Regions from separate parts of the Homo sapiens genome. Here regions 1, 3, 4, 5 and 6 are each linked to region 2. The links are contacts of gene promoters, found by promoter capture Hi-C in blood cells and fetal thymus (Javierre and others, 2016). All regions are on one chromosome and are shown on one strand. Each heading gives the region's core, a stretch centred on a gene start or on the middle of the fragment in contact. The rest is flanking DNA. Distances are from core to core; before and after follow the strand shown. Region 1 has its middle 21 kb from the start of PNPLA8. Region 2 holds the start of IMMP2L (inner mitochondrial membrane peptidase subunit 2). Region 3 overlaps DLD (dihydrolipoamide dehydrogenase). Region 4 overlaps PNPLA8 (patatin like domain 8, phospholipase A2). Region 5 overlaps LOC124901722 (a long non-coding RNA gene). Region 6 holds the start of CBLL1 (Cbl proto-oncogene like 1).

Region 1 (4,089 bases), core at 365-2,864, 3.0 Mb after region 2:
ACGGCACTCCAGCCTGGTGACAAAGCGAGACTCAAAAAAAAAAAAAGTACTTGTGTGTGTGTGTGTGTGTGTGTGTGTGTGTGTGTGTGTATTAAGCATGTTATTTTGAGAAATATAGGTAAATACACAAAGAATCTGCAATATGATTAGAAGCGGTTGACTCTGGAGAGCAGAAAATGAACTAGGACTGCAGGCTTTTGTTTTGTTTTGTTTGCAATAAGGCTTGTAGAACACTGGGTTTTTAAGAATATGTGTAAGAGCTATGGGCTCACTCCTATTCATCCTTCAGGACTGATATGGTTTGGCTGTGTCCCCACCCAAATCTCATCTTAAATTGTAGCTCCCATAATTCCCATGTGTCCTGGGTGGGACCAGTGGGAGGTAATTGAATCATGGGGGAGGTCTTTTCTGCGCTGTTCTCATGATAGTGAATAAGTCTCATGAGATCTGATGGCTTTATAAAGGGGAGTTCCCCTACACAAGCTCTCTTGCCTGCTGCCTTGTAAGACATGACTTTGCTCCTCATTTGCCTTCAGTCATGATTGTGAGGCCTCCCCAGCCATGTGGAACTGTGAGTCAATTAAACCTCTTTCCTTTATAAATTAGCCAGTCTTGGATTATGTCTGTACTAGCAGCATGAGAACAGACTAATACAAGGGCTGACCTATTCGTTATTTTATCTAGAAAGCCTTCATTTGCCCTTCCAGATAACCTTCATATTTAGTCTGTTAGCTCCTTTTACTTAATCCTATTATCATTTCTATCATCCAGTGTCATTATTGCTTCTTTACTTGTTTTTTTATCCCCAAAGTATAAGCTTTTTATGAGCTTTTTAGCTTCATTGTCTAGCACAATTCCTAGTACAAAGTCAGAGCTCCATAAATATTTTTCAGGTGAACAATAGCACCTACTAAGCCATATTTCAAGAGCTGTTTTGCTGGGTCTAATTCTGGCTCCACATTGAGACAGTCAGCATATAAATTAACCAATTTGCAGCTCCATGAGTATATTATTGTCCCATTATTCAGGCAGGTCCTGTTAAATTATTAACTTGAATTGTAGTGTAAATAATGCTACTTTAAATCTCTCCTGGCATGTTATAACCAGTACCTAGAAAAGGTGCAGTAGCATTCCCTCCAGGGTTGGGGACTGGACCATGGGAGGCTTTTAGGAGGCTCATTGGATCCTCTAAAATTTAATGCAAAATTTCATGTGCATAGGCATTTTTCACAATTTCTATTAAGATTAAGAAAGGGATAAATTACCCCTCAAAATTTAAACACCACTGCTCAGGGCAATAATAGCTTACATCTTACCTTGTGCCATTCTTTAGAGAAACAAAAGCTCTTTACGTATTTTATCATCTAAAAACCCTGAAACATAGAAATGGAAAATCGATTATTCTAGACAGGTTAATACACAAACAACAGCTCAACTATGTGATTTTAATTAATCAGGAATAGAACTAGGACTAAAAGAAAAAGTGTCCCATATCTAAAAGCAGGCTTGATAAACTGTACACAGAATTCTTACAAATCTTAGACGAATACTGCCTCATAATTTTAGGGAAAATAACTTTTAATGTTCAAATTACTATATAGAATATCAGAAAATAAATTTAGGGATTAAGTAAGTATTCTTTTGGATCGCTGGAAAATAATATGTAAGTTCAAGTCTTGCTTTTGGTTACAGAAATATAATTCAAAATGAGAAGCAATGGAGTAGGAGCTAATTTCAGAGAGAACCTAATCTTTAGTTTTATTCAGTGCATGGTTCATGTTTTCCATTAATAAAGATGTGTGGTGTTTAAATATGCACAATGAACTAGAATATTATAAATGTGAAATGAGGTTAATTTCATTGAGCTTGCTACCTTGGTTAGTCTAAATGAAAATGAATTCACTGGCATGAGACTAGAATGTACCTGAACCACGGATGAAAAATAAGTTAATCCGTTCATCAGTGTGGTATTAAAAGATGAGAAAGAATTTTTGAGGGAGTAGAGAGTGACAGATGACGGACACTATACAAATTGTTCAAACAATTCCCAGAATGTCATTAAATAAGAAATGTCTATTCCTTTTTTGGAACATTAAATAATATGCTCAAGAAGCATTTGTTTTGCCTTGTTAAAACTTGGTGCTTTGAAACACCCTTCAGCATATCAACTTCCAGTCCACCTGGATAGTTTCCTTAATTTGGGAAATGATAAAACACAAAGGGAAAACAATGTTCCTTAATATAGGAGGGGCATAGAGCTGGGATCCAGCTCCGATTTATTTTATTACCAATGCAAGCGAGACTGAAACATCTGGTTTGCATTGGTAATATAATTTAGTGAGGAGGTAGAAGCACATTACTAGGTATCATCACAGTAATGTATTTCTGAAGAGTACTGTAAACAAAGCTTTTTAATAAAAAATAGACAACAACATCAGCTCAAGTCATGCAAAGGTAAACTGCTCATTCCTTAGCAATAGCAAAATACTAAGTGAGGCGACAGCACTATTAAGAATAGAGAATGGAGCACCCTGGTTTTAAACAATAATTCTTGATATGGGAAAACTTGCTTCCAAACTTAGATAAAATGATCCCACAAATTCCTCCTTCTCCTTCTCTTCTTCCTCCTCGTCCCCTTACGATTCCTCTTCCTATTTTTGTTGTTGTTGTTAATCTGGAGCAAAACTGAAACCAGAACTTTTCAGGGGCAGCGGTGTGGGTAAGGGTCCTATGTATCACTGAAGAACCAGTTCAAATATCACCTGTTCCAGGTGTACACACCAACTGGTTGTTTATGCCTGTCTGAACACATTCTATTCATTATTATAACTAAATCACACTTTGCTGTGTAATTGCCTCTTTATGTATCAGTCTCTGTGACTGCTCTGCAAGTTCCTAAGAGGTGGAGGCCAAAACTTGTTTTTGGCACCTAGCAAGCCCTCAAATTTTTACAGAAAAACAGGATGATAATAATATGCTATCTCTTGTGGCCTTATCTGATTGACAGATGGTTGATAAAGTGAACTGCATCATGCTTAGATCTATTTACTATTTAATAAATGCTATTTAATAAGTACTATTTAGTAAATGCTTAGATCTATTTACTATTTAATAAATATTGTAGATCGTTAACCTAATGGGAACTTTACATTACTCAATCTCAAAACCTGTTGCTAACTCTGTGCTGGCTCTTTTGCCCTACTGTGTATCTCAACTCTATCCATTTTAAGAGCAAATAGAGGAAAAACCATAGAAATTAGAATGTCAAAGGAGATGGGAAATTTAGAAAATATAAGACTTAAATGAGAGAAAAGAAATTTAAGATGGTTAAAAATACACATATCACTATTTTCTATTTGAGGTCCCACTCAGAAAGTCACAAAATATTGACTCTAAGACTCCTATTTTTAATTGCAATATATAGAATGATTAACAAATAAATCAATGAAACTCAAAAATGTAATAACCCAACAGTACAAAAGGTGATCTATCAGCCACTCCTAAATCTTCCTTATGTTGGAATTATCTAAATTCTAAATTGAATTTTTAAGTCAAGACTTTGATATTTTTCTAAATAGATATTTTTCTAGACAATTATCTTCATCTTGAATGACTTATCTCTTGATTAGGATTTTATTCTATGAAGCTTAAGCTCTACCTAAATTTATTCTCTATCTTCACAGATATATTATTCCTAAAATTGTCTGTAAATATTTGAACTAGTCACGCTTTTCACAATGGAACTGACAGCAAATTGTCACTTGAGACTTAGAAGCTGCCATTCTATCTTAATGCTGTGGAATGTTTTGCTGCCAACTCCCTCAAAATAACAAAAATTTGCGGTTTACAATTGTTCTGGGAACTATACTAATCTATTAGACATGAAAAGTCACTTTCACTACACTTTAAAAACAGTATAGACATTCTTAACACTACATAGTAATATTAATAATGCTATGCTTCATTTACTGGTCTTTTTAAATCTTATATCAATTCATTTTATGGAGCAATCCAACTGTTTTTGTCATTCTTGGCAGTGTGTCTATTTTTAAAAAGGTAGCCTCAAATTCAACAAACTATAGCAATCTA
Region 2 (3,814 bases), core at 1,111-3,610:
AAAACATGAAAAGGAGAGACTGGCCTAGTCTCTCAGCCTACAGCTTTCTCCTGTGCTGGACGCTTACTGCCCTCAAACATCGGATTCAAAGTTCTTCAATTTTGAGACTCGGACTGGCTCTCTTGCTCCTCAAGCTTGCAGACAGCCTATTGTGGGACTTTGTCATCATGTAAGTTAATACTTAATAAACTCCTCTTTATATTTATATGTCTATCCTATTGGTTCTGTCCCTCTAGGAAACCCTGACTAATATACCATAGTTCTGCCCTTTCCAGATATTAGCTTCTTTTTAAGTACACTTGATGAATCTTAGTGATAAAATCAGGCCAGACCTAGCAACTCTTTTTGTATGTTTATTGACTTCCCAATACAATAAAGGCCATAAACACCTGTCTTTGTTGTTTATTCACCTACATTCCATCCCAGACTGTCAGTTCCTAGTGACCAGGAGCTCCATTCAATTTGGGGTCATGGTACCAAATAGTTCTTGACTGCTATTTGATGAGGGTGGTCCTGTCACCTAAGTGCTCTTGAAATTAAGTCCTTAAGCACTGGCCGAAAAGAGCTTACTTTGCAGTAATTATTTCAGTGACAAGTAAGAAAAACTGGGACATATCCCCTTCACAGGAGAGCAATTTTGCTCTCTTTAGGAAACTCTTGGAATTTTAGTTATCAGGCTATTTAAGACCCTGAGTAGATTCTTAAACCTTTAGAATAAATTTTGAACCAAGAGTGCCAGAATGTCTGTTATTTACATTAGTATTAAGTGATCTGAAAGTGCACAGAGTAGTTTGGCAGTATCTAGAGGGAGAATAGAGACAGAAATAATGAAGATACAACTGGAGGAGTAAGAAAAGGAGAAAAAAAGTATTTTATGTCTGTTCAGTATTTCTAGGTGCCACTGCTGCTAAATGCCTGGGCTTCAGCCTAGGTTGGGTTGCTCCTAGCAAAGAAAACCAGTCCCTGAGACAACGAGTATTGCCAGGGAAGACAGGCTTTAATGCAGGTGATGCTGGCAGGGAGACCAGTCTCAAACATGTCTTAGGGAGACTAAAGTTAGGGCTTTCTATAGCAGGGAATTATGGAGGGGTAAGGAAGAGGAGTTTGTGAACAGGCAGCAGATGCACCTCATTGTCCAGATGTAGTGTTCTGGAAAGTTGCATTTCCTTGACACTATCTGGGAGGTCTGACAGTTTATCTGCTGAGAAAGGAACTCAGGTAAAATGCACGCAAGTTTCTCAAGTTTCACTTCGAAGGGAAAATTTGGCCGGTTTCGGTCTTCCCTTTCTATTTATCAATTCCTCAATCATGCGGAATCTGGTAGTTGATCTTTCTGGCTGCTTCACGTGAAGGAAGGGCATCTTGGGATGATATGGAATGAAAATATCGCACCTGTAATTGCAAGTACTTACGAGTACCTGGTTGGCATCCAGCTTGTTGGAGCACCATGATTTGGGTACTTTCATCAACATTTTAAACCACATTGAATTAGGATAATTAATAACATGGATAAGAAGGTTTCTTTGTAGGTTGTAATAACCCAGTTAAGAGTTTGTACCATTCGGCCGGGCGCAGTGGCTCACGCCTGTAATCCTAGCACTTTGGGAGGCCTAGGTGAGCGGATCACGAGGTCAGGAGATGGAGACCATCTTTGCTAACACGGTGAAATCCCATCTCTACTAAAAATACAAGAAGATTAGCCGGGCATGGTGGCGGGGGCCTGTAGTCCCGGCTACTAGGGAGGCTGAGGCAGGAGAATGGCGTGAACCCGGGAGGCGGAGATTGCAGTGTCGCTCTGGCGACAGAGCGAGACTCCGTCTCAGGAAAAAAAAAAAAAGAGTTTGTACCATTTGAGGGCAAAAGCTTCAGTATGAAATTCCCGTTTCTCTCAAGTAAACCGCCTGTCCTGTGTTACTCACTTTGTTTTACCTGGAGGCAGCAAAACTGAATAGTTTTCCTGAGTGCTCATGAGTAGGAAAAAATGAAATGAAGAGTTGCCCAGAGATCGCTAGTGAGGTGCTTTGCCACTACTGCCCTGTACTTAAGTAACTGTGAGGGTTCTCTGTTTCCTGGCTTCTAAAACAAGAGGAAGAGCTGAAGACACAGTTTCATAGACTTTTCGGCTCTTTATTGTAGTCTCCCCCATTAGTACGTTGCTGAGCTTAGGGCAAGTGCTCAATAATAGCTTGCTGAATTAGTGTTGTGTTTGATCCTTTCAGATCCACGCCGCATTTTGAGCCCGACCTGGGCGGGCGGTCCAGAGACCAGTTTTCCGCCGGGGGCGGAGCTTCGGGCGGCCAGCGCGCGACGGGGCAGCGGGGCGGAGCTTGCCGCCGGCGGAGGGCGGGGTCTGCGCGGGGACTTCCCCCGGGCTGAGCTGCGCAGCGGGTGCGGAGGGCGGGCGCCCGGCGTCCGGCGGCGGGTGGGGGGCTGTGAGGCTGGCAGGGGTCGGCGGGCGCGTAGCCGCCGACCCTTGGTGGTCTCTTGGGCTGGGGACCCTTCCCTGGGAGTCGGCCCCGGCCCCGGCGGGGCGGGCGTTGCCGGGAGGCGGAGGGGTGCGCGGCCGCGAGTCCTGCGTGATCGCGAGCATGTGTGCGTGCGCGTGTTTATCTGAGGCGCGTGCGGCGGCCACCCCAGCCTAGTCCTCTTCTTGGTGCCACTGGCTAACTAGGTTGAGAAACCGGCGCCACAGGCGGCACACCTGGCCCGGAGCTGGCCCGCTCCTCCCCGCCGAGCCGGCGCCCCAACAACGCGCCCTCTCCCAGTCCTCACAAAGGGGCCTAGTCCGGCCCCCGGCTCTGGCCGTGAGGGAGCGCTGTGGGGGCGCGCTGCCTTCTGCCTGGAAGTGTTGGGCAGGTGGTGGGAGAGCGTCAGGCTTGAACAACATGATTTTAAAGCACGTGTCTGTCTGTCGTTTTTTACTTTTAGGGTTTTGGCCAAATTGGGCGAGGGCACAAAATAACCACTTACCCCTTCTCACCGAGGAAGAGCGGGAGAAAGGGTAAGTAAGGAATGGTCAGGGGTGGAAGGACCTAGGACTTTATCCTGAGAGCGAGCGAGAGAGAGAAGGGCTAGATGTCCAGAACTGCTCGTGGGGAACTTGGGCCCAGATTCTACCTTTTCATCGGGAACTGGAGGACCCACCTTCAAAGTCACAGGCTCCAGGCCCCGGACTGTTTTCAGCCTCACACAGTCTATAGAGTTTAACAGCTTGGGCATGTGGATCCCTTTTAGCCCCTTGACCCGACAGAAAACTGCACTTCCCCTTTACCTGTTTTTACCTTGGAACATTGGTCCTCTCTAGTTGTCTGTCTCCGGCCCCTATCTTATTAGCCAGCTTTGACTAATCCCTGAGACCATAGCACTAAAGAATCCAGGTCCTGTTTGATAATGAACAGTAACCCCCCTAGGGATGTTTACATTTTAAAAGGGTACTCCTGAAAAAATCCTTTAGGACCCCAAAGCATAAAGTTAGTAACAAGATTACAAGTGTTGAAGTTCTTTGGGATCTCTCAAGCTTACAGAAGAAGATGTTTTGAGGGGAGAGAGATGACCAGGCTGGGCCTTTTTCTCTGGGCTTTCACTCTTGGTACCTCCTGGCAAGCATTCCATTCACTTTTGAAAAGTTGCCAAAAAGGACACTGAAGTTCTCTGAGGCTTACTGTGATTTTCAGTGTGGTCTATTTCATTGGTTCTTCTGTGGGACTTTTCTATCACTTCTTTAATACACTGCTTCCCTCTCCCCTGTATGGTGAAATGAAACACAGCTCCTCTCACAAGGTTGGGAGCTCATTATGCATCCTATATGTCACAT
Region 3 (4,020 bases), core at 1,384-3,883, 3.7 Mb after region 2:
GACTTAAACAAGGCAATTAATGTTATTAAAATTAACTCAAAGAAAAAAGTCAAGAAAAGTACTCTACAAATTCCTACAAGTGTTACATATTAGATCATTATAAGGAAAATAAGGCACCTGGTTATCCAGGCTACCACTGAAATAAAGGTATTGTGTTACAAATCAATTGTAATCATCAATATAATTACAAGATGTATCTCAAGAAGTCAGTCTGTGTAATCCCAGCACTTTGGGAGGCCAATGCGGGTGGATCACTTGAGGTCAGGAGTTCAAGACCAGCCAGGCCAACATGGTGAAACCCTATCTCTACTAAAAATACAAAAATTAGCTGGGCATAGTGGTGCGTGCCTGTAGTCCCAGCTACTCAGGAGGCTGAGGCATGAGAATCTCCTGAACCCGGGAGGTGGAAGTTGCAGTGAACCAAGATCGCACCATTGCACCCCAGCTTGCATGATAGAGTGAGACCAAGTTTCAAAAAAAAAAAAAAAAAAAAAAGTCAGTCTACAATAATACCTACCACTTGGGTAGCTTAAAATGTGCCAGTTAGTGAGCCAGTCACGTGTACTGTCTTATGTAAGCCTCATTACATTTCTATGACATAGTTTAATACTACCATTAACAGAGGAAGAAAAGGTTGAAAACAACTAAATAATTTGCATAAGGCTACACAACTAGTAAGTAATCTAGCCAGGATTCAAACAAGGTCCTCTAGATTCTGAAATGTGTGCTCCTATATACCATTATGTTCTATTGCCTTCCAAAACACTCAGATGATCCCATAATCTCCAGGACAATCAAGAACTTCAACTAAAATGACAAGAATATGCTTTACAGAATGAAATCAAATATTTATGACTCATCAGTACCTTCAATAACCTTAAAACACAGTGAGAAAAAAGAGGCACATGTCAAAATAAAGGTAAAATCAGATTTTTGGCCAGGCGCGGTGGCTCATGCCTGTAATTCCAACACTTTGGGAGGCCGAGGTGGGTGGATCCCCTGAGGTCAGGAGTTCGAGACCAGCATGGCCAACATGGTGAAACCCCATCTCTACTAAAAATACAAAAATTAGCCGGGCTGGTGGCAGGCACCTGTAATCCCAGCTACTCGGGAGGCTGAGGCAGGAGAATCACTTGAACCCGGGAGGTGGAGTTGCAGTGAGCCAAGATCACGCCACTGCACTCCAGCCTAGGGGACAAGAGCGAGACTTTGTCTCAAAAAAAAAAACAAACAAAAACAAAACCAGATTTTTAAAAAGAAAAAACGAACAGGAAAAGAGATGTCATAAGGCAATAATCATTAATTACCAAATTTACTGAATGTAAGAACTACTTGATAAGGTTTATTTGTTGACATTTTGTTGAGGGGTAAGGGAAGTTGTTTTTACATTGTCAATGGCCTTAATATCCAGTCTTTTTCAGTAACCTCCTCCCATAGTTAACACTCTATACTTGTTATCACCCAAAACTGTTCAGCCTCTGAAATCAATACTCTACTTTCTAGTCATAACCTCCTGGTCCCTAAAGAAGAAATATAGTAAAATAAGAAATGATCTGAAGTAAAACAGACCTGGGTTCCAAACTCTAACCCCGTTAAGTTCTTGGGCAAATTACTCAATCTCTCTGGGCTTTGATACAACATGGGGGTAATAGTAAGGATGACACCTGCAGCCTAGGGTTGTGAGGATCAGAGAGTACGCATGTTAAGATCCTAAGGAGGTGCTAGGTGCATACTAGCAACTCAGTGTCACTCCCCTTCTCAGATCCACCTCCAAACTTCAGTCCAGCAGCCTCTAGCCTCATTCACATCCTCCATTTTAGCCTACCCAGTGCTACCGCAAAGCTAAAACCCAACTCAGATGTTATTCTCTCTGTTGTTACGCTCTGTTGGTTCTCCAGTGTCTTGTTAGATAAAGCCCATGTTCCTAAGTACAGCATCCAAATTCCTTCAGTAACTATTTCTCCAGCCTCATCTCCTACCACGTTCTGTTTACTCACCAATACCATGCAGTTTAAGCTTCAGTAACGGTGAATTACTACTCTTAGCCTACATGCATAGAATTATGCTGGTCTACCTATGTACGATCTGTTCCATCTACCTAGAAATAAACACTAACAGCAGGCATTTCACATTACAAACACTACTTTAGGCTCTTGGAGGGGTGTGTCTGCACATGCTGTGTCTGTGTGTGTGTATATATAAATGACATAGCCCTATTTCTTACAGTCTAAATAAAAAAAAGAATTACAGTAAAAGGTCCAACCTGTAACGAGAGTTACTCTCAACCTTTTTAGCTATCAACATAATTCCTTAGGAAAGAATTATGTGACCATTCCCAATCCATATATAGATGTCATTACTCCCTATGCTTAAGTCTATGGACCCCTGTCACAATTATATGTTGGATGTTTGTCTCCCTCAACTGAATTGTAAGCTCTATAAAAGCTGGGTCTTGTCCGTCTTGCTCACTGCGGTACTCCAGTAGTTAGCCCAATGACTAACACATAGTAGATATTAGTATTTGTCGAAATAATAAAAGAATGAATGAATGTAGTGAATGTGAGTGATATAAGTGCTGTAAGTTTAAGTGTTACAAGTTTGATTAAGTGCTGTCATGAAATAAAACGTCACATCAACAGTAACACACACAACTTTGCAAATTCTGATGAACCTGGTTCATAAGGCTATTCAGACATCTCTCAGATGTTGTAACCAAGACTATATCATAATAAGATTTGAACTCCTCAGGAGAGTCAATCAATACTCATGTAAGGAAGAAAACTCAATAAAACATTAACAGTGTAGGCTCTGAAGTCAAAAGGATTCTCCCAGCTCTGTCATTTCCTAGTTAAAAAACCTAACTCTTCCATCTATAAAATGGGGAGAACAGCAGCACACAGGTAGTAGAAAGGCCATGAGGATTAAATCTGTGCCTGAGACAGAGTGAAGCCCTCAATGCATCAGTTAATATTATTGCTGTTGTAGCTGGTTACTTACTTTGTACAAGACACCATACTGGATGCTTTGCCACAGAGCAGTAATTAAAACAGACCAGGCCCCAGTGTTCATTCATTCAATAAATATGTACTGATTACCTACTGTATCACTTTAGATACTAAACAAAACAGTCACACACAGTCCCTGTCCTGATGAAGTTTGCATTCCTGAGGAAAAGACAGTAAGCATGTACCTCAGATAAAATACAAGTATGTGTGTAAAATGCTTGTTACTGCATCCACTCAAAGCTTTTACACACTTTACACACATGGGTACTAAGTGATTTATGATTTACTCAATGTCAAGGGATCACCAAACTGATTATGGAACACTCAGCCTCATTCCACTAAAATCTAAGTTCTGGCTCAGGGTCTGCCTGGCAAATAGAAGGCACTGAATAATCTCTGCTGAGTGATGCCAAAGGTATAGAGTTAGCCATGAAAAATATCCTTTAGAAATGAAAATCTAACATTTCTCCTGTTATATGAGTTGAGAAGAATGAGATTCCTATTTAACAAGAGACAAAGTGTATAAGAGGTCCAACTTTTCCCTTCATCATCATATTAGCATTTTTTTAAAAGGATTTCTTGACCTGTTCAAAGCTAGAATAAATCACTCACTCACTGTTAGTCATGGGTTACTAGAATCCTCCCCCTACCCTTCCTCTAGAAATAAAATATCCAAAATGATAATGGTTGGATAACAGTTGAGGATACAGGATTAAATTACTTCACAGAATGCAGGGAGACTGATAGTCACAGTTTGCCCAGATAATGATTTCTATAACTGAAGCTTTAAGACATCCAATGTTACTTATAATCCATATGGGTGAATTCAGTAAATGTCAAAACAGTACATTGCAAATAATCAATATCCTTGGTACTGACAGGTCAAAATACTTCAATATAATCCTATTAACTTTCTGTTTTAAATACTTAAAAAAATAAAATGCATATCCTTTATGGGAACTTCAAAAATATAAAAAAAGTACACAGGAGAAAATTCCATGACCCATAGCTTCCT
Region 4 (3,808 bases), core at 192-2,691, 3.1 Mb after region 2:
CCCTTCCCTTAAATAATCATCTGAAAAACAGTGAACTGGACAAATTGCATATAACGTGTCAGCATGTACACTCTAGTGTGAACTTTTCCAGCTAAACTTTTTGTTATTATCAAGAGTTGAGCTTTTTAAAAATGATAGAATTTTTATAAAACATCTGTATCAATTTTACTTTTTTATGTGTCTACCATATTTAAGGTAGCTAAATACAGGGAATTATGTCTGATACGTAATGCCCTAAAAAAAAATGAGTTACTTATTTTGTATGCTACATTTATGGCAGCCACATTTAGGGAATTGTCTGTGATAATTTTTTCACTGTGATGAAGGTGGTCTCCTTTCATTATGTTTTTTAATTAAAAAGAAGAACTTTGACTGTTTAGAAAGAAGGCAGCACAAAGCATTGTAGGGAATTAGAAGAAAGAAAAGATAAGAAAATAAAAATAATATATTTTACCCTCAGATTACCACTGTAATGTATTAGAGTTTATTTGTGTTCATTGGATTAAGCTTCCTTAAGCTCTAATAGCAAACAACACCGAAATCTCAGTGACTTAACAAAACAGTTTTATTTCTGGCTCATGCAAAGTTAACTGTGGGTTTGGGTGACTCTTTGGCACAGTGAACCTCCGTGTGGTGGTTACTTAGATCCTGTCCTGTTGTCTGTATTTTAATTGAGTCTTCCTCTCTGATTTCTGTGGCAAGGAAATAATATTTCAGCAGAAGTTGCCACGGGTTTCTTCTACTCACAATCTGTTTATCCTGTCCGATTGCATGGGCCTGAAAAGTACAACCTTCTGTATGCTTGGAAGGGGAAGCAAACAGTGTATTGGTGAACATTAGTAATGTCTGCACAGTATTCCTTCAGAAATCATTCTATGCACATATATACCAAAATAAACTCATTCTGTATATGTTGTTTTATAATCTGGTTTTTTAGCATATAATGTATACCTTTCTATATCAGTAAATGTCCCTTTATCCTGTACCCAGTTTGAAAATGTTATTTATGTAACTGATTAGATCCAAATGAGGGTTCAGTCTAGATCACACATTGCATCTGACTATTTCTCCAAGTCACTTAAAATATAACGCAGTCCTTCAGCCACACCTTCTTCACCTGCACCTTTAAAACTGATTTAATTGAAGACATTAGGCTGGTTAACAGGCAGAAAGACTCGCTTTCTGGATGTACCTGCCTTCTTCCTTCTCAGTGTTATTTGAAGTGTTCCTCTTTCCTTTTCATTTCCTGAACACTGGAATTTAAATATAATGGCTTGATTGAGTTAAACATTTTGTTGTTAGAGCACATTGTAGGTAATGTCATGTGCCTCATAATGCATCATATCAAGACACACATGACAATTAGTTGAACAACCATTAGTAATGCTAAGGATGACCACCGTGTTAAAGTGATGACAATCTGCTTCTCATTGGACAATTGTGCTAGAAGCATTATCTCATCAACCATTAACCTAATCATTTCCAGAACTAATAATTTCATTAGAGTTGCAGAATGACCAATGTCTAATTCTGTTACTCCTACATTATAATTGACATTCTTCTGTAAAGAAGAGCCTTCCTTCATCAACTGAAGCTATTTGGGTATTCTCAAAGGCAAATTTTACAAATTTTACAGGAAAGGAAAGAGAAATGCTTAATTTATTTGTATTTAGTTACCAGTTTTCTTTTTTTTTTTTTTTTTTTCCAATTTGAGAGCAGGTACTGTTTATTAACCAACCAGCTTAGAGAAATAGTCATGGTAGACACCTTAGTTCATTCTTCTAATAAGCCTGTTGATCTGGTCCTCCCTGTTGCCAGCATCTCCACCTTCTACAAAATGGGTGGTCTTTTTCTTCATTCCACCTCGTGGAGAAGACAATTTGAAGGGCCACAGGAAGTTATTTGCCTCTTTGAAGCGTTTTCCAACAGTATAGATCTCATGAATCAGATCCTCCATGCAGATGATGCCATATTTACCAAGAGATCGAGCAATCAAAGCGTTATCTGTCAAAGCAATTCGCTTCTTATTGATTTTGCCATAACCACTCTTGTAGATTAGTTCATTTACTGACTTCAGATTGGGGTACCCCCATGCAATATATGGCTCTACAATCCTCAGCATGTTAGTCGAAGCCTTGTTGAGCTTCACAAAGGTTCCATTGTAGATTTGACGAAGGCGAAGAAGCTGCAACACCTTTCGGACCTTTGGGCTCACGCCACTGATACCTCTGATTCTGATGACAAATGCCAGTTTGGGTTCTGCAGGTACAAAGTAGTTGCCAGCTTTTCTTGCCATCCTCGCCATTCGAATTTCAGTTCTGTACATCTGCCTATATTCCCTGTGATAGTGCTTTGCTTTTTCATAGATAAGCTTCCTCCTTGCCTTTCGAAGCATCTTTTGGGCAAACTTCTTTCTCAGGCGCTTCATCTTCAGCTCTGAGAAATTCCTTCGCTTTTTCTTAAGGGTTTCTGGCACAGCAGGAACCTTCTTCTTCTCTTCTACACCCACCATGGTTCCAGCCGGAAAAAGAGCTAGTTACCGGTTTTCTTTCTTTTTTTTTTTTTTTATTATACTTTAAGTTTTAGGGTACATGTGCACATTGTGCAGGTTAGTTACATATGTATACATGTGCCATGCTGGTGCGCTGCACCCACTAACTCATCATCTAGCATTAGGTATATCTCCCAATGCTATCCCTCCCCCCTCCCCCCACCCCACCACAGTCCCCAGAGTGTGATATTCCCCTTCCTGTGTCCGTGTGTTCTCATTGTTCAATTCCCATCTATGAGTGAGAATATGCGGTGTTTGGTTTTTTGTTCTTGCGATAGTTTACTGAGAATGATGATTTCCAATTTCATCCATGTCCCTACAAAGGACATGAACTCATCATTTTTTATGGCTGCATAGTATTCCATGGTGGATATGTGCCACATTTTCTTAATCCAGTCTATCATTGTTGGACATTTGGGTTGGTTCCAAGTCTTTGCTATTGTGAATAATGCCGCAATAAACATACGTGTGCATGTGTCTTTATAGCAGCATGATTTATAGTCATATGGGTATATACCCAGTAATGGAATGGCTGGGTCAAATGGTATTTCTAGTTCTAGATCCCTGAGGAATCGCCACACTGACTTCCACAATGGTTGAACTAGTTTACAGTCCCACCAACAGTGTAAAAGTGTTCCTATTTCTCCACATCCTCTCCAGCACCTGTTGTTTCCTGACTTTTTAATGATCGCCATTCTAACTGGTGTGAGATGGTATCTCATTGTGGTTTTGATTTGCATTTCTCTGATGGCCAGTGATGATGAGCATTTTTTCATGTATTTTTTGGCTGCATAAATGTCTTCTTTTGAGAAGTGTCTGTTCATGTCCTTTGCCCACTTTTTGATGGGGTTGTTTGTTTTTTTCTTGTAAATTTGTTTGAGTTCATTGTAGATTCTGGATATTAGCCCTTTGTCAGATGAGTAGGTTGCGAAAATTTTCTCCCATTTTGTAGGTTGCCTGTTCACTCTGATGGTAGTTTCTTTTGCTGTGCAGAAGCTCTTTAGTTTAATTAGATCCCATTTGTCAATTTTGTTTTTTGTTGCCATTGCTTTTGGTGTTTTGGACATGAAGTCCTTGACCATGCCTATGTCCTGAATTGTAATGCCTAGGTTTTCTTCTAGGGTTTTTATGGTTTTAGGTCTAACGTTTAAATCTTTAATCCATCTTGAATTGATTTTTGTATAAGGTGTAAGGAAGGGATCCAGTTTCAGCTTCCTACATATGGCTAGCCAGTTTTCCCAGCACCATTTATTAAAT
Region 5 (4,166 bases), core at 476-2,975, 3.0 Mb after region 2:
ATAGATCATAATGCACTTACATTACTGAATTGGGATACTGAAAATTTTACTAATGAAAAAAGGGAGGCTTGTGGGAATTATTTGCCCACAGTATCACAACCAGTAAATGGTGAGGGAGGACAGGACTCCAACCTTGCCTTAAGTCTGAAGTTAAGCAATGCAAACATTGATACTTGCCTATAAGAAACTAACATGCGCCAGGGCACAGTGGCTCATGCCTGTAATCCCAGCACTTTGGGAGGCTGAGGCAGGCGGATCACAAGGTCAGGAGGTCAAGACCACCCTGGCCAACGTGGTGAAACCCTGTCTCTACTAAAAATATAAAAATTAGTCGGGAGTGGTGGCACATGCCTGTAACCCCAGCTACTTGGGAGGCTGAGGCAGGAGAATCACTTGAACCTGGGAGGCAGAGGTTGCAGTGAGCCAAGATCACACCACAGCACTTCAGCCTGGGCAACAGAGCGAAACTCCATCTCAAATAAAAAAGTAAAAGAGGCCGGGTGTGGTAGCCCACACCTGTAATCCTAGCACTTTGGGAGGCAGAGGCGGGCAGATCACCTGAGGTCAGGAGTTCAAGACCAGCCTGGCCAACATGGTGAAACCCCGTCTCTACTAAAAATACAAAAATTAGCTGGGCGTGGTGGCAAGCACCTGTAATCCCAGCTACTTGGGAGGCTGAGGCAGGAGAATTGCTTGAACCTGGGAGGTGGAGGTTGCAGTGAGCCGAGATCGCGCCACTGCACTCCAGCCTGGGCGGCAGAGTGAGACTCTGACTCAAAAAAAAAAAAAAAGTAAAAGAAAGAAAGAAAAGAAATTAACATGCAATTGAATATGGGGGCATTTTTAGACTTATTCCAACTTTTCAACTGGATGAGTTGTCATAGAAATAAGCAAGGCATGGAATAACCTACAAAAGTATTAGGTAAAAGGTAAAATCTAACTCAGATTCAAAAGTAAGTTGGAGAAAATACAATTATGTGTCCTTAATATCTTAATTTTATGTTGCTACTCTTGTGCCAAAACCTTAGCTATAACCTGTCTATTAATAAAACTATTCTTTCTTCACCCAGAAAATCACCTTATATATAACTGGTTTATTTCCCACTGGTTTAGTTCCTCTAAGATGTCCCAGCAGGAAGCTGGATAAACTGGTCTCAAGCCTGATAGAGAGGCCTGAACTGCAGGTATAAATAGGCAAATTCTTTAAGGCAGTTTTTAAGGTGGAGAAAGAATGATTTTTTTATTAAAAGGTTAAATAGGAAAACAGTAAATATGACAACAACAGGACTCCTCATCTTCTTCAAATCTTGCCCTCTCATGGTACCAAAAAAATGTACTTAAAACTTAAATTCCACCATGTTATTCTTTTGTCTTAGAATCTGACAGTGGTTCTGATCACCCAGAAGATCAGGTCCAAGTTCTTCAGCTCTCACCCAATCCTTATATTACATTTCCAGTACAAACATGGAACACATAGTTCCCTTCATGCACTATGTTTTTTCCTGCCTTATTGCCTTTTATTACAAACATCACTTCTCTCTGTAAAGCTCTCTCCTTTCTCTTCCCACTTTTACCACTCCACTACTGCCATCTGTCTTGCTAGCAACATCTTTTAAGACTTGGTTCAGAAGTTCCTTCCCAACACCACAGGCTGGGGTAGGTATTCCTGCTCTAGACTCATAATATCCAGTTCATGTCTCCATTAGTGCTCTTTCTACATTAATAGTATTATTACCTAAGGTTATATTTTGAGTTCCGTGACAGTGCTTCAATTTTTTACCTCCAGCAAATAGCTTGGTGCCAGGCACATAGTAAGCACTCAGTAGATAATGGCTGAATGAATAAATTCAATTCTTTCAATATGCACTCACCAAATAGTTACTGAACAATTAACTTTTTTTTTTTTCTTTTTCAAACGGAGCCTCACCCTGTTACCCAGGCTGGAGTGCATTGGCGCGATCTCGGCTCACTGCAACCTCCTCCTCCCGGGTTCAAACCATTCTCCTGCCTCAGCCTCCTGAGTAGCTGGGATTATAGGTGCCCGCCACCACGCCCAGCTAATTTTTGTATTTTTAGCAGAGATGGGGTTTCACCATGTTGGCCAGACTGGTCTCCAACGCCTGACCTCAGGTGATCCACCCGCCTCTGCCTCCCACAGTGCTGGGATTACAGGCATGAGCCAACGCTCCGGGCCACACTTTATTAATAATTGCTGTGCCTTGGTGCTAAGGATCAAAACAGAAAATCCTTGCTTTCATGTTTTCAAACTATATAAAGATAATTATATTAATTTCCTATTGCTGCTGAAACAAAACACTTCAAATTTAGTGGCTTAAAACAACTCAAGTTTATTATGTCACAGTTCTGTAGGTCAGAAGTCCAGCAAGAGTTGACTGGTTCCTCTGTTCCAGGTCTCATAAGGGTGAAATCAAGGTGTCAGCTTACCTGAGCTTTTGTCTGGTACCTCTGGGGAAGAGTGTGCTTTCAGTTTTATTTAGGTTGTTGACAGAATTCAACTCCTTGCGGCTGTGTGGCTGAGGTCTCCATTTCCTTGCTGGCTGTCAGTCAGGAGCCGCTCTTGGTTCCCTATGGCAACCTGCATTCCTTGTCAAATTGTTCCTCTCATTATCTTGATCTCTCTGACTTTCGCTTTGCCACATCTGTACTGATTTTAAGGATTTATGTGATTAGATTGGGCCCACAGAGATAATCCAGGATTATTTTCCTTTCTTAAAATCTGTACCCTTAATTACATCTGCAAAAAGTCCCCTTTGCCATGTAAAGTAGCATATTCACAGGTTCTAAGGATTTGGGCATGGGCATTTTTTAGAAGGCCATTCTTCAGCCTACCATGGTGATTATTCTTCTAGAATTATTTTCTGGCATATCCCTCCCTTAGGTGATCTGGAGAGATATCTTGCACCAATATGGCTTAATTTATTTTGGTTATAATGTTAAGTTTTATTTGAACAATAAAGATATTAGCAGCTCTTTTAAAAAGCTATGAACCAGACCAGAAAGGAGTGACTATGGATGTAGAAGAGCTAAAATAGATAAATCAATAATAAACCTTATAAATAGAATGAGCATAGCAAGTAACTGATACAGGGCAATGTGATGTCTCTTTTACCCAGCTTCCAAAGAATATAGCGTTGAACAATTACTGTATTTAGCATTATTTCAAGTATAGATGATTTCCTGAAGGCATTAGTCTGCTATTATACACAAGATAATCTCCAATTTTGCATACTACTGAATTTGTTTGAAATTAAATATAATTCTCTTTTGTCTCAAAACTGCCCAACATCAAAAGAATCATAAATGGGTTTTATTTTCCATTTTTAACTTATCAAACTAGTAATCTAAATGAAACTAAAAATCAATTCAATAATACAGAATTTTAGAGAGTCTACTATTTGTTGGATGTTACGCTAGATCCAGACAATACAGTTTACCTTACGCTCCTTGACTGCAGGAAACTGGCAGGCATATAAACAAATAAATTATAATACTGTGCAGCAAGGGCAATAAGAGAAGTGAGCACAGGTGGAAGGAATGATTCATTCTATGAGTAGTGAGGTAAGATTTTCCTGGCTGAAGGACAAACAAATCTTTAGGAGGACAAGGTGGAAGGGGAGCTAAGCCAACAGCATGACCAAGGCACTAAGTATGAAAAGGAACAAGAGTATCTGGGGAAGTACAGGTGTGGCTGGAGGATAGAGAGTGAGAGGCAAGTGGTGAAAGTAAAGGCTGGAAGGTCAGCAGGGTCAGAACCTATAATTTCATTCGGTATATTCTGTGAAGATGTACAGCCAGCAAAAGCTTTTTAATTCGGGAAAACACGATTGGACTTGCACTTTCAAAAGATTACCGTGGTTGCACAGAAGAGACTGACTGGGTCAGAGGTTAGTTACAGGCTGGAAAACCAGTTTAGATGAAACTGAAGAGCAAGGATGAAAGCCTGAACTAGAGCAGTGGAAATGCGAATGTGGAGCAGAGGAACGATTCAAGAAATTCTGCGGTAAAACTCATCAGACTTCATGACTGATTAAAGGTATGGTGGTAGACAAGGGAGGGAGAGGAAGGATAAGAATGGAGAAGCAGGAATTGGGCGTTATTTGAAAATTTCTGACATGGGAGGAAAATCTGGATATTTAATAACATCT
Region 6 (3,977 bases), core at 459-2,958, 3.8 Mb after region 2:
ACCTCTACAAAAAAAGATTGTTTTCTGCCCCAAGTTTTCCTCAGCTCAATAATGGACCCTACCTAGTTGCTCAAACCAAAAGCCTAGGCATTTCTCCTTTCTCTCACATTCCTTCAAACACCACCAGAGTATTTACTGAAGCTGCCCATTCTCCTTCATTTTCACCAAACCAACCTTCCCTTCCCGTCTACTGCAATCAGCTATTTTCCATCATTCTTACCTCCCTCTCTTACACCATTCTTCATAGAACAGCCTATTGTATTTTTTAAGAGACTGTGTTCCTCCTCCACTTCTGTTCAATGGCTTCATATTCACTTAAATTAAAATTCAAACGTTTACCACGGCTTTCAATGACCTGAATGATGTGCCTGCTGCCCTCCTTTCCAATCTCACTTCAGGACTCCTACCCTCTGGCTATTAGGAGGCTGCAGCTGACTTCACTGTATCTTCCTACCTCAGTGCCTTCGCACTTGCTGGAAATGCTCTTCCTCTTGCTTTTTTCCCAGGGCTGGGTTCTTCTCATCCATCAGATCTTAGCTTCCACAAAGACCATTCCTAACAACCCTCTCTGAAATTTCGTCCTATGAATCTCTCCACAGCACTCGTTTATTTTCTTCAAAATAATCCGCAAACATTAAAAAAATAATAAATTTAAAAAAAAAGAACGTATTGTCTGTGTTCCTCCATAAAACAGAAGTTCTATCACGGACCTGGTCCGTCTCGTTTACCATTCCATCTTCCATCTCCCGACCTATAGATATCTGCATGTATCTTGCATAAATAAACATACACACCTACATAAATAAACATACACACCTAATTATATAACCAAGTAGATATCTGATGAGTGAGGACAACTCAATACTCAAGAAAAAGCCTTTTTTTCTCTATTTGTGATACGGTCGCTATAAATGTATGGGGCACATAACTCCAAGAGCACTCATTCAATATCCAAGAACCACAAAGAAGCAAAAGCCAGAAAATACATAACAAAGGGTGGAGCCACTCTTACTTGGAGAAAAGTATGAGAATGCCTTGATTTTAAACTCCTCTTTGTAAATACCCTCAAATGATGAGTAAGGACCTCAGCCGAAGCGCGGGGCATGCTTTTGGTTTAGGTAGAAAAACTGCTCCGAGTTTGATTCCAAAAACTCTATCAGACTCCCTTCTTTCACCCCTCTAGTCCATAAAGGATCGGAGAGACGACAGGGGGTGACCACTGCAGCACCCGCCCAAAGCTGACTGAGACAGCAGGAAGTCTCCAACCCATTCTCGCCCGTCCACTCCCAGCGTAAAGAGGATTCCGCGACTCGGAGACCGCAATCTACCCGCCAGTCTCCATAACGTAGGCCAGAGCAGCTGGGCTAAATAAAACAGAGCCGGGGCTCTCCCTTCCCGAAGGCCTACATCGCCCACTGGTCCGGGCTCGGAGCTCAGCAGAACCAGAGTAGGAGCGGTTGTTGCCGGCACGGAGGAGGTAGGTACCACACCAGACGGTAGGCCAGGAAACCGCAGGCCCCTGCCGGGCACAGGAAGGCATCTGTGAGATTTCTTCTCACTGCCACACCCTAGTGTTGTGGGGCGAGCATAATCCCTTTTGCCTGCTGTGCGACCAGCCCCAGGCCGGCCAAGGGGGCTTGGAACCGGGACCCCCACTGCCTCCGCCTCCTTACCAGTGTGATCCATGATTCGGCTCGCAGAGCACAGTGGGAGCGGAAGTCAACCGCGCCGGAGTCGCAGCGAGCGCGTGCGCACTGCCTTCCGGAGGCCGGGAGGCGGAAGTCCAAGCAGGTTGTCCCAATTTTGGCCTGCAAAGACTTCCTTCTCTCGCCTCTACTATCCAACTCCTGTGAGGGACTCAGGCATAGTTCGGGCGGAGGCAGAAAGAGCGAGCGCGCGAAGAACTTCGGTATTGAGGTTGCTAAGGCTTCTCCTCATGTGCTTCAAGAGAAAGTAGCCTTTAACTGTGGAAAGGACACCAGGGGGACCGGGGAAGGGGAGAGCAGTGGTAAAAATGAGCCAGAAGCAGATAAGGCGACTGCCCGCCCCGCGGAGAGCTGCCTTCTGGGACTTGTAGTGCGCGGGGCCCCCGGAGCCGGCTGGCTGCGCAGGCTCGGCCGTTGCGCTGGCCCCACCCCGGCGGGCGGAGTAACGGTTTGGAATCCCCCGGGGTCAGCGAGCGCTTGTTTCCTCCGCCTGGTGTAGCAAAAGTGTAAACACGCGCGCTCCGGAAGGCGCCCTCCAGTGGGAGGTTGCTCAGGGGATGGCGGAGCTGTGAAACTCGGAGCTAGAAGGAAAGTCTCAACGCTTGTCTAAATTTTGCTTTGTCGTGACGAGCTACCTAGACCCACGCAGAGCTAACTTGGTATATGCCCCGGTTCCCATCTCTTAAGTCTCTTTACAGTTGAAACACGTTTATAATGCTTGACTGCCACTCACTTTCTAGGGAGAGCGCTTGTGACGCTACGAACCTCTCGAACACCTGACGACTGGGCGCCAGGGCCGGATGGAGGGTGGAGAGCCAGTGCGGCGCAGCTGCCTCCTCTTAACGGGGACACCTTGCAGGAATGTGCGGAGTGGAGCTAACGGGAGCGGATAGAAACCGAGGGAGGGGAAGAGAGCGCGAAGGCTTGGCCGGAAGGAGAGGTTAAAAAGGAAAGGCCTAAAATGAGGAAGAGAGTTACCACAACAAGCAGTACCTAGTTCCAGTTCTTGGTCCCAGGAGTTTGTGGTTGTTGCTGCTTTCATCTTCCTCAGCCAACACAAAAGGAAAGTGCCAAGGGGCGATTCCTAGGACCTTCAGTGCAGTCTCCACCTTGCGGACTTGGCTCATTTGTGTCCACTCCTTTCTCCAGCCTTTTACACTTGATGCTCTTGGATGAATAGAAAGGAGCACAATTAATGGAAAACACAAGCTTGGGAGTCAAGGGATTTGGGTTCTATTCTTGTCCTCCCTTGGTGACGACATCATTACCTTGGGTTATTCAAGCTTTCAGTGCCAGAGTTCCTATATCAATAAAAGATTATTACATTGACCTCTTAGAGAAATGTTTTCATGGTACTGAATTGCAAATAAAGTATGTGTAGCGATGTGTTATATCTTTGTAGTTGTACGGTATTATTTGTGAATCATGCTGTGATGATCAGTGCGATTTAAGTGCACCATGTTATTTGGTGATTATTTTCCTGAGATCTTGTAAAAGATTTTTCTGCTCTATATATGCAGCTTTATAAACAAGTTTTTAGGTACATTCACAACTAAGGACATTTGTGAATCAAAATTACCCCTGCTTTTTTTAAATGTAAAGTTCTGTATTGCTAGGTGGTTTTCAAGATGCTTTCAGTTTCTGGGATTATTGTTTTGGGCATTGGGGCTTGCCTAACCTTTTTCCCATACCTCCCTATTTTTCTAAATACAGTGTTGATATAGTCAGGCATTTTTCACCAATTTGGGTTTTTTTTTTTTTTTTAAGTTTTCACTTAGAAAGTACTTCTTTTTCATATTAAAAAAATTTTTTTTAGAGATGGGGCAGCCCAAACTGGAACACAATGGCAGAATCATAGCTCACTGCATCCTTGGACTCCCGGGCTCAAGGGGTCCTTATGCCTCAGCCTCCGGAGTAGTTGGGACTACAGATGCTCATCACCACCACTGGCTTTGATTTTTTTGTTCTATCATACTTAGCCTATCAGCTAACGGTTAACCTTCAGATTCATGGAAATCCAGGTTCAGAATAGTATTATTAATGTCTGCTGATGCTAATATTTAAATAATTAGAATTAAAAAGAGCTTTCAAATTGTATTTTATATAATTTAACCTGTAAGTTAGAAGTTTTGTTGGCATTTTATGGTGCATCAAGAAAATTTACTGAGAGAAGATGTACTTACTTTAGATCTGATAAAATGTTAAACATTTGTTTGATTTGATTTGACATCTCTTACTTTCAGGCATTGCTTTAGCATCTGTGGTCTGTAT

What was found. The method cuts DNA at HindIII sites, captures the fragments that hold promoters and counts their contacts. A CHiCAGO score of 5 or more calls a contact.
Region 1: a contact is called between a fragment that was not itself captured here and the fragment with the promoter of IMMP2L in region 2, in 11 of 17 cell types (total B cells, naive CD8 T cells, naive B cells and 8 more). The highest score is 15.1, in total B cells.
Region 3: a contact is called between a fragment that was not itself captured here and the fragment with the promoter of IMMP2L in region 2, in 2 of 17 cell types (total B cells and naive B cells). The highest score is 12.9, in total B cells.
Region 4: a contact is called between a fragment that was not itself captured here and the fragment with the promoter of IMMP2L in region 2, in 6 of 17 cell types (total CD4 T cells, total B cells, naive B cells and 3 more). The highest score is 9.2, in total CD4 T cells.
Region 5: a fragment that was not itself captured here is called in contact with the fragment with the promoter of IMMP2L in region 2 in 12 of 17 cell types (naive CD8 T cells, non-activated CD4 T cells, total B cells and 9 more); the score reaches 20.6 in naive CD8 T cells.
Region 6: the fragment with the promoter of CBLL1 here is called in contact with the fragment with the promoter of IMMP2L in region 2 in 2 of 17 cell types (fetal thymus and total B cells); the score reaches 6.9 in fetal thymus.

The regions. Positions count from the first base shown.
Region 1 is chr7:108,545,091-108,549,179 of GRCh38, reverse strand. It overlaps a transcript of THAP5 not described here. Among named protein-coding and RNA genes, the nearest start is that of PNPLA8, 21 kb to the right of the region's middle. The HindIII fragment of the contact is 1,590 bases long and covers 820-2,409 here.
Region 2 is chr7:111,561,038-111,564,851 of GRCh38, reverse strand. It overlaps IMMP2L (inner mitochondrial membrane peptidase subunit 2), which reads left to right and starts at 2,360. Exons shown (of 6, transcript NM_032549.4): 1 at 2,360-3,001. RefSeq lists a silencer at 2,199-2,828. The HindIII fragment of the contact is 1,654 bases long and covers 1,866-3,519 here.
Region 3 is chr7:107,894,050-107,898,069 of GRCh38, reverse strand. All of the region lies in intron 2 of DLD (dihydrolipoamide dehydrogenase), which reads right to left. Among named protein-coding and RNA genes, the nearest start is that of DLD, 4.9 kb to the right of the region's middle. The HindIII fragment of the contact is 1,229 bases long and covers 2,019-3,247 here.
Region 4 is chr7:108,508,937-108,512,744 of GRCh38, reverse strand. The region is part of intron 4 of PNPLA8 (patatin like domain 8, phospholipase A2); the gene reads left to right. It also overlaps the pseudogene RPL7P32. Among named protein-coding and RNA genes, the nearest start is that of PNPLA8, 15 kb to the left of the region's middle. The HindIII fragment of the contact is 1,864 bases long and covers 510-2,373 here.
Region 5 is chr7:108,527,945-108,532,110 of GRCh38, reverse strand. LOC124901722 (a long non-coding RNA gene) reads right to left here. Exons shown (of 2, transcript XR_007060473.1): 2 at 2,329-2,660. It also overlaps a transcript of PNPLA8 not described here. Among named protein-coding and RNA genes, the nearest start is that of PNPLA8, 3.9 kb to the right of the region's middle. The HindIII fragment of the contact is 4,198 bases long and covers 1-3,824 here.
Region 6 is chr7:107,741,873-107,745,849 of GRCh38, reverse strand. It overlaps CBLL1 (Cbl proto-oncogene like 1), which reads right to left and starts at 1,708. Exons shown (of 6, transcript NM_024814.4): 1 at 1,674-1,708. The coding sequence starts at 1,686. CBLL1-AS1 (CBLL1 antisense RNA 1) reads left to right here and starts at 1,269. Exons shown (of 2, transcript NR_144537.1): 1 at 1,269-1,477; 2 at 2,447-3,097. RefSeq lists enhancers at 1,234-1,413, 1,764-1,983, 2,081-2,599, 2,600-3,119 and a silencer at 2,024-2,223. The HindIII fragment of the contact is 5,122 bases long and covers 1-2,917 here.